2 separate regions of the Homo sapiens genome follow, and region 2 is linked to region 1. The links are contacts of gene promoters, found by promoter capture Hi-C in human tissues and cell types (Jung and others, 2019). All regions are on one chromosome and are shown on one strand. The core of a region is centred on a gene start or on the middle of the fragment in contact, and the rest is flanking DNA. Distances in the headings are between cores, read along the strand shown.

Region 1 (5,036 bases), core at 996-3,495:
GTAATCCCAGCACTTAGGGAGGCCAAGGCGGGAGGATTGCTTTGAGGCCAGGAGTTCAAGCCAAGTCTGAGCAACATAGTGAGACCCCCATGTCAACAAAATAAAATTTAAAAATTAGCTGGTCATGGTGGCACGTGCCTGTAATCTCAGCTAGTGGGGAGGCTGAGGCGGGAGGACCCCTTGAACCCAGGAGGTCAAGACTGCAGTGAGCCGTGATCCTGCCACTATACTCCAAAGTGGGCGATAGAGAAAGGCCCTGTCAAGAAAGAAAAAAGAAAGAAAAGGAAAGAAAAGGAAAGGAAAGGAAGAAAGGAAAGGAAAGGAAGAAAGAAAGGAAAGAAAAAAAAGAAAGCTAGCAGCTGGGAAGGGAAGGGGAGGGGAAGCGAGGGGAGGGGAGGGGAGGGGAGGGGAGGGGAGGAAAAGGAAAGGAAAGAAGGAAAGAAGGAAGGAAGGAGGAGAGATAGGAAGGAAGGAAAAGAAGGAAAAGAAAGAAACCAAGTAGCCGGGAAGGGAAGGGAAGGGGAGGGGAGTGGAGGGGAGGGGAGGAGAGGGGAGGGGGAAGGAAGGAAGGAAAAGAGAGAGAGAGAGAAAGAAAAAGAGAAAGGAGAGGGAAGAGGGGAGAGGGGAGAAACCGAGCAGCCAGCGTGCCTAGCACAGCCCTGGACACCATTGACCCCTATGTTTGGGTTGAGATCTGTCCCTGAGTTAACTTCAACCCCAGGGCTGTCAGGCACTGCTGCTATCAATACCTCATTTGTCCCTCACAACAACTCTGGGGTGGCCTCCTTTCTATGACTTTCTATGAGCCCGCCTGTCCCCCTGCTATTACAATGAAGCAGATGAAACTGCTGATCTTTGTTACTGATGTTTTGGCTGTTTTCAATTTCCAAAAAATGACAATTAAATGCAATTCAACCTAATATTGCCTAAATTTTAAAAGAGGAAATAGGTTCTCACAGTGTTTAAGTAACCAGCCCCCGTGCCTCAGAGGTAGTCAACAGCAGTATCTGGATTCAAAATCCAGTTTGCCTCCTTCTGAACTTCTTAACATGCTACTTTTAGCCACGGATTAAGAACCCGGGAACCAGTTGCTAGGGTTTGAGTATCAGCTCATCTACGTAGCAGCCATGTACCTTGGAAATAATAATAATGCAGACCAGGTGCAGTGGCTCACAGCCTGTAATCTCAACACTTTGGGAAGCCCAGGCGGGTGGATCCCTTGAGCCCAGGAGTTGGAGACCAGCCTGGGCAACACAGTGAGTGAGACCCCGCCACCAGGTATGGCGGCCGCGCACCTGTAGTCAGGAGAATCACTTGAGCCCAGGAGTTGGAGGTTGCACTGAGCTGTGATCACACCACTGCACTCCAGCCTGGGTGACAGAGCGAGATAATAATAATAATGATGATGATGATGCAGTATTTTCCAATTTACAGGGTTGCCCTGAGGATTGAATAAGGAAATCTAAGTACAGAGATTTAGAACAGAGCCCTGCACTGTGTAAGCACTCTATAGATGTGAGCTATTATTATCATCTTCAGGTTCCTTTGGTAGTTTTTTTCTGCTTGAATAAAATATAGCAACACACACACACACCTCCTTTGTCCACTAATGTAATCCCATAAAACGGAGAAACTCAGCAGTGAGGACATTCTGATTCCAAGCAGGAAGGAGATGAACGATGAACCTCAGGCTGAGCGCCTCACGGTTTCCTCATGTCACCGGGGCTGGGGGTGCAGTTTGGCTTCACACTGCTAGGTCTTTTCTTGTTTTTAAGGGGGCAGGGGCTGTCACCTCTGAGGAGTCAGCTGTGATTGATCCTTCTCCACACCCAGCCAAGCACCCCCCAGACAGGGGAGCGCCCGCAGTAGGGCGGTAGGCAAGGGCAGTTCTAGCCAACAGTCCCTAAATCATCCCAGCGGGGGCGCGGGAAATTCCACCGAGGTGAAAGCCTAGGGGGCCGGGTGAAGAAATCCCCATACCCGGGCCCAGAAACCGCTCCAGGTGGAAGTAACTTGTCTAAAGAGAACAGGGTGTAACGGGGGTCATTTCAGGGCTGTTCTTTTAAATCGGTGAGCACGGTCTGTCTACTTTCCCTCAGTTGTCTAGAGACCACACGCCACCCCCGCCCCGGGGGAGTCGCCCGGTCGAGGGTCCCGGGACAGGCGCAGCACTCGCAGCATCCGGACCTGGTCTGCCTCGCGCCGGGAGCGGCCTCTTTAAGAGCGGCCGCGGCCAACGTGCTCCGTGACGTCAGAGCAGGAAGTGTTTGAGGAAGTCGCGCCGCGCTGCCCGCGTTAAGATTCCCGCATTTTAATGTTTTCAGGGGGGTGTCATAGCCCCGGGTTTGGCCGCCCCAGCCCCGCCTTCCCCGCCCCGGGGAGCCCGCCCCCTGCCCCGCGTCCCTGCCGACAGGTGAGTCCCCCTCGTGGGTGCGGCCCGGGTGCCACCTGCAGGCCCCGCCGCCCCGCTGCCTGCAAGGCCCGGAAGACCCCTCTGTGCCGCTGGGAAGTCGCAGCTTGCGGACTGGGGAGCGTTTCACTTGTGCGGGTTGGAGTTCGGGAAGCCGGGAGAAACAGCTCTCCCTGGGGTGGCTTCTTGGGGGTGGGTGGCTTTGAGGGGAACCTGCGATTTATGGGAACATTGTAAAGAAACACGTGACCTCGGCGATGCTCAGAAGTAGGTTCTGCCCCTGCCACCTCGGGCAGAAGGCGGGCAGGCCCGGGCGCCCCTGGTGGAGTCAGCTGGGGATCCCCTCGCTAGGGCAAGGGCGTGGGCATCGCCTCCCTCGGTGACTTTCTTCCTTGCCTGATGCCACAGCAACCGGATGGGGGAGGGTGAGAGGGACAAAAGTTTGCCACAAAGTTTGGACCAACCAAACACATTGGTTTCTTTACAAAATAAAAAACCAGTTGTATTTTTCTTCTCTCCCATTCAAGAGCAGTGGTATCTCTTGCCTTCTCCATCCCTTTGAGCTCCATTTTTTTCTTAATCCTAACCTTTTTTCCCCATCCCAAATTGCTTATAGAGTTAGCACGACATCAGTATGAGCTGGTCACCTTCCCTGACAACGCAGACATGTGGGGCCTGGGAAATGAAAGAGCGCCTTGGGACAGGGGGATTTGGAAATGTCATCCGATGGCACAATCAGGTAGGCCCTCTGTGCAGCTTGGGGAGGGGCGGGGAGCCAGGCCCCCTCCTCACTGCCTCCACTTTCTCTGATCCTGCTGGGCCAAGGGCTCACCTTTGGCTTTGGTCATCTTGGGACAGTGAATAGGGGGACTGGGAAGAGGGCTTCAGGACTTCTGAGCTGACTCCAGGTTAGTGGTCTCCATGCTTTATTGACTATGTCACCTAAATAAATAGTAAAATAAAGTTAAGCTCTTAGTCTCTATTATATATATATGGTAACAGTAGAATATCATGTACTAATATATACTGATATTATATGTTATAAAACATATAGAAATAGGAAAATTTAAAGGATGAGACTAAATAAATAATTTAAAATATTTTAATTCCTTGAGGCCAGTAGTTCAAGAGCAGCCTGGGCAACATAGCAAGACCTCGTCTCTACAAAAAAGGTTTAAAAATTAGGCAGCCAGCTGGGCGTGGTGGCTTATACCTGTAATCTCAGCACTTTGGGAGGCTGAGGCAGGCGGATCACGCAGTCAGGAGATGGAGACCATCCTGGCTAACACTGTGAAACCCCATCTCTACTAAAAATACAAAGAATTAGCCAGGCTTGGTGGCACGTGCCTGTAGTCCCCAGCTACTTGGGAGGCTGAGGCAGGAGAATCGCTTGAACCCATGAGGCGGAGGTTGCAGTGAGCCAAGATTGCGCTACTGCACTCCAGCCTGGGTAACAGAGTGAGACTCCGTCTCAAAAAAAAAAAAAAAAAAAAAACCTTAGGCAGCCTTGGTGCGTACCTGTAGTCCCACTACATTGGAGGCTGATGTGGGAGGATTGCTTGTCCAGGAGTTTGAGGCTGTAGTGAGCTATGATTGTGCCACTGCACTCTAGCCTAGGTGACAGAGTGAGACCTTGTTTCAAAACCATTTTTTAAAAATTATTTTAAATGTCGGGTGCAGTGGCTTACACCTGTAATCCCAGCACTTTGGGAGGCCGAGGCAGGAGGATCACTTGAGGTCAGGAGTTTGAGACCAGCCTGGCCAACATGGTGAAACCTCATCTCTACTAAAAATACAAAATTAGCTGGTGTGGTGGTGCATGCCTGTAACTTCAGCTACTCAGGAGGCTGAGGCAGGAGAATCGCTTGAACCCAGGAGGCAGAGGTTGCAGTGAGCCGAGATAGTGTCACTGCATTCCAGCCTGGGTGACAGAATGAGACCCTGTCTCAAAAAATATATATATATATATATATTTAAAATATTTGCTAATTATGATGTCTTCCCAGTATTGCTTGCGATACTGCACGGCAAAAAATAAGCAGATCCACATGAAAGTGAGAATTCATTTAGAATGATGATGAAAATCCATATTTCAAATAATTAACATTTTTTTAAATTTTGTAGAGATGGGGTCTTGCTATGTTGCCCAGGCTTGTCTCAAACTCTCATCCTCAAGCAGTCTTCCCGTCTTTGCCTCCCAAAATGTTTGGATTACAGGCCTGAGCCATGGGACCTGGCCTCAGCTGAGGTTTTTTTTTTATTTTTTGTAGTGATGGTGGTCTCACAATGTTGTCCAGGCTCGTCTAGAACTCTTGGCCTCAAGTGATCTTCCTGCCTTGGCCTCTCAAAGTGCTGGGATTACAGCCATGAGTCATTGAACCTGGCCTGTTTTTATTTTTAATTGACACATAATAATTGTACATATTTATGGGGTACAGTGTGATATTTTGATACATAATGTGTAATGATCAAATCGGGGTAATTGGCGTGTTCATCACTTGAAACACGTATCCTTTTTGTTGGAAACAGTCAAAATTCTTTCTTCTGGCTATTTTGAAATATACAATATTTTTTTTTTTCCGGAGACAGAGTCTCGCACTGTTGCCCAGGCTGGAGTGCAGTGGTG
Region 2 (4,625 bases), core at 666-3,165, 280 kb after region 1:
CTAACTTTCTGTGGGAATGTCCAAAGAATGCATTTCCTAGGGTAGATGTCACAGCTGTGTCAATAGCAAAATGTATCTTTTCATCCCATAGCTTCTTTCAACCAAATTTGTCCAGCAGGCCAAAACTAGATAAAGCTCTAAACGTTTCCCAGTGTGGGAGGCATGCGGGGTGAGAGAGCCATGTTCTGGCTGTCACATCCTTGCTAGGCTGCTGTGCAACACTTTTGTAGCAGCACAGCCAGGTGTTGAGTCTCTGTGGTTTTTGTTTTTTGAGATGGAGTCCCGCTCTGTCACCCAGGCTGCATTGCAACTGCCTGACCTCCGCTCACTGTAACCTCCGTCTCCCAGGTTCAAGCAATTCTTCTGCCTCATCCTCCCAAGTAGCTGGGATTACAGTCACCCGCCATCATGCCCAGCTAATTTTTTGTATTTTTAGAGAAACAGGGTTTCACCATGTTAGCCAGGCTGGTCTTGAACTCCTGACCTCAGGTGATCACCCACCTCGGCCTCCCAGAGTGCTGGGATTACAGGCCTGAGCCACCACGCCCAGCAGAGTCTCTGTTTTAAAGTATTCTGTTACTTTCCTCTGGGTGTTACAATTTGGAAACTGCAATAACATTTCAAGCTCAGTCCTTTTAGTAATATTATTTTTTATCCCAAGTTTCTTAAAGGGCCAGATTGTAAATATTTTAGGTTTTGTGGGCTTTGAAACAAAATCAATATTGTGTAGGTGCAGTCCTTGGTATTTGGGAGATTGGTGCCAGGACCCCCTCAGATATCAAAATCCGTAGATGCCCAAGTCCCGATATAAAATGGCATAGTATTGCATATAACCTAAGCACATCCTCTATGTACTTTAAATCATCTCTAAGCACTTACAATACCTAATACAATGTAAATGCTATGTAAATAGTTGGTATAATGTATTTTTTAAAATTTGTATTTTTTCCCAAATATTTTCCATTCACAGTTGGTTGATTATGTGGATGCAGAACCGTCAGATAGAGAGGGCCAACTGCACCATTTAAAATGTGCCACTTAGAAATGTAAATCCCATTCTTGGCTCATGGGCCGCACACAAACAGGTGGTGGACTGGATTTGGCCAGCAGGCCATATGTTTGCCAACCCTTCTCCAGACAGTGCTACCATCATTAATTAAAAGAAACCCTGCTTTCTTTTCTCTCTTACAGCCCCATGGCTGGGGGTTATGGAGTGATGGGTGACGATGGTTCTATTGATTATACTGTTCACGAAGCCTGGAATGAAGCCACCAATGTTTACTTGATAGTTATCCTTGTTAGCTTCGGTCTCTTCATGTATGCCAAAAGGTAAATTTTTGTTTCTCAGGGTAGATAAAAACTGTGCATTTACAAGTTTTGCTAGTTTAAGAAATATGAAATGAATGCATAAAAGTAATTTCATCAGGCTGGACGCAGTGGCTCACACCTGTAATCCCAGCACTTTGGGAGGCCGAGGTGGGCAGATCACGAGGTCAGGAAATTGAGACCATCCTGGCCAACATGGTGAAACCCTGTCTCTACTAAAAATACAAAAATTAGCTGGGCATGGTGGTGCGTGCCTGTAATCCCTGTTACTTGGGCGGCTGAGACAGGAGAATCACTTGAACCAGGGAGTTGGAGGTTGCAGTGGTGTACTCCAGCCTGGCGACAGAGCAAGACTCCGCCTCAGAAAAAAAAAGAAAGAAATTTCATTATAATTTTTGTTCTAGTGCTGAAAGACACTGTCTACTCTGGTCTCAAGCATTGGTGGCCAAGGTTTGGCTCTGAAAACCCCATTGCTGGCCAGACACGGTGGCTCACACCTGTAATCCCAGCATTTTGGGAGGCTGAGGCTGGTGGACCTCCTGAGGTCAGGAGTTCAAGACCAGTCTGGCCAACATGGTGAACCCCGTCTCTACTAAAAATAAAAAAATTAGCTGGGCGTGATGGCGTGAGCCTGTAATCCCAGCTACTTGGGAGGCCGAGGCAGGAGAATCACTTGAACATGGGAGGAGGATGCAGTGAGACAAGATCGTGCCATTGCACTCCAGCCTGGGCGACAAAGTGAGACTCCATCTCAAAAAAAAAAAAGAAAACCCCATCGCTTTAAGAAATGAAGAGTTAAGTACCACTCTCAGCCCCCAGGCCAGCTGCACTAAACTCTCAATTCTGCAATTTCTAATATAGCCCAATTTTATCATCCAGCCTGGGTTCATTGTCACCCTTCATTGAGCACATTTTTTTTGGCTTAAGTCCCTGAATGCAGAAACACTGACTCCTGTGTATTCAGCAGATCTCCCTTTAGCCAGTATAAGCTTTTCCTTGTTTTTTGTGCATGACTATATCATAGCACTTATTAAACAATGTTAGTTTTATCTGATTACTTGTCTGTCCATTCCACAACATGTCTTTTTTGTCTTTTACTTTTGGGTCCTTGGTGTGCCATATAGTGTAAATCTTCAATAAGTATTTCCTGCTTTAATTCCAGATGTTGTAGCTTAATTTAACTGCTTTTCCACATTCCCTGGCTCCTTTCCCAGAAGTACAGTAAAAAGGGGGAGGTGCAGGGATGCTTTAAAAAGAGGAAGAGCAGTGTTAGATTGGGATGCTTCTGCAGACACATGCTTTACAGGTATCCTGTCCCAAGGTAAAAAGGCATTCGAGAGTTCAAGGTAATTAGTAATCCAGAAATAATTTACGTTTGGCCTGAGGAATCATTCAGAGCCCGCACTTGCGCCCAGATCTCAGCTGAACCCTCCTGGAGCAGCTGGCCTGTTGGCTGCTGAACTCTAGGGGTGGTGAGAGGAGGCACCCTGACCATCACTGATCACCTGGCAGGTGACCGCTTTCCTCTAAAAACAGCCACCGCCGCCTCCCCATGTTTCTTTTAAAAGCAGAGGCACGCTGTTCTTAATTTTAAAAAGATGTCTCCACTAAGCCCATCCTATTGTATTTAAGAAATATGTTTATTCATTACTTTCCAAAATTAGGATCTGCTCACATTCAGTTTATTCTCCAGCCCAGTCATTTAGCTTTATCTGGATGTCATGAAAGGGAGGAAAAATCAGCTGTTTTCTTGTTTGTGATTTTCTCATAGGATATTTGGCTTTTGGAGGATTGAGGAGAATCACAATGGAGGAACTTCACTTTGTTGTGTTAAATGGATGTGTTCAGCTACTTTTCTCACAGCCTCATACTTTTTAGTGAAAGAAAGAATACTTTGAGCCAAGGAAGCAGCTCTCAAAGACAAAATAGAAAGTAAAATGGTCTTGTCATTTAAGTCCTTTTACCACAGCTTCTGATGACCAGGATCATGAGCATATTACAACTCTATAGACATTAATACAAACATCTCTTCTGCATGGATTTTGTGTTTAGGAACAAAAGGAGAATTATGAGGATATTCAGTGTGCCACCTACAGAGGAAACTTTGTCAGAGCCCAACTTTTATGACACGATAAGCAAGATTCGTTTAAGACAACAACTGGAAATGTATTCCATTTGTAAGTATATTCTGTGCTGAAAGATACACATATGCACATTTAAAATAGATTTTCTGGAATTGAGTTCATTTAGCAAAATGTTATTAGAAATCGTAAGTAATGAAAACTTAGTACTTCTTTCAGATGTTTAATATGTTTTTCAGATACTTATCCTTTGTTCCTTTTGTATTTTATACCATTTGCATGTGTTACTGGCTCAAAATAAGACATATAACTTAATTCAACATAGCAGCATTATTCACAATAGCCAAAAGGTGGAAATCACCCATAAGTCCTCAGCCCATGAATGAATAAACAAAGTGTGGTGCATACAATAGAATGTTATTCAGCCCTTAAAAGGAAGGACATTCTGGCCGGGAGTGGTGGCTCACACCTACAATCCCAGCACTTTGGGAGGCTGAGGTGGGTGGATCACAAGGTCAGGAGTTCAAGACCAGGCTGGCCAAGATGGTGAAACCCTGTCTCTACCAAAAATACAAAAATAAGCTGGGCACACTTGCGGGTGCCTGTCATCCCAGCTACTCGGGAGGCAGAGGCAGGAGAATCGCTCGAACCTGGGAGGCAGAGGTTTCAGTGGCCTAAGATCACACCACTGGACTGTAGCCTGGGCGACAGAGCAAGACTCCGTCTCAAAAAAAAAAAAAGAAGTACATTCTGACATGCTACACATGGATGAACCTTGAAGACAGTACACTAAGTGAAATAAGCCAGTCACAACAGGACAAATATTGGATTATTTCACTTACGTGAGGCAAATCACAGAGACACAAAGTAGAATGGTGGTTGCCTGGGGCTATGGAAGAGGGGAATAGGGAGTTTAATGGGTCCAGAGTTCAGTTGGGGATGATGAGAAGAGCTCTGTGGATGGATGGTGGTGATAGTCCCAGCAATGCAAATATATGTAATGCCACTGAACTGTACACTTAAAAATGGTTAAAATGGTAAAGTTTATGTTATGTATGTTTTACCACATTAAAAAAAATCCTTTTAAAGAAACATAAGTATTGTTTAAAAAAAAAAGTACAGAGCCTTGGGGCCAGGTGTGATGGCTCACGCCTGTAATCCTAGCACTTTGGGAGTCTGAGACAGGTGGATCACTTGAGGTCAGGAGTTCGAGACCAG

The links. The method cuts DNA at HindIII sites, captures the fragments that hold promoters and counts their contacts. A contact is called where the count stands out against the background at its distance.
Region 2: a contact is called between a fragment that was not itself captured here and the fragment with the promoter of IKBKB in region 1, in 1 of the 25 tissues and cell types used here (heart left ventricle).

What each region holds. Positions count from the first base shown.
Region 1 is chr8:42,269,057-42,274,092 of GRCh38, forward strand. It overlaps IKBKB (inhibitor of nuclear factor kappa B kinase subunit beta), which reads left to right and starts at 2,246. Exons shown (of 22, transcript NM_001556.3): 1 at 2,246-2,413; 2 at 3,027-3,149. The coding sequence starts at 3,045. It overlaps IKBKB-DT (IKBKB divergent transcript), which reads right to left and starts at 2,194. Exons shown (of 4, transcript NR_185843.2): 1 at 1,595-2,194. RefSeq lists an enhancer at 1,241-1,740 and a silencer at 2,237-2,526. The HindIII fragment of the contact is 8,594 bases long and covers 1,077-5,036 here.
Region 2 is chr8:42,545,278-42,549,902 of GRCh38, forward strand. SMIM19 (small integral membrane protein 19) reads left to right here. Exons shown (of 4, transcript NM_001135674.2): 2 at 1,192-1,329; 3 at 3,379-3,503. The coding sequence starts at 1,196. Among named protein-coding and RNA genes, the nearest start is that of SMIM19, 6.0 kb to the left of the region's middle. The HindIII fragment of the contact is 4,156 bases long and covers 1-3,993 here.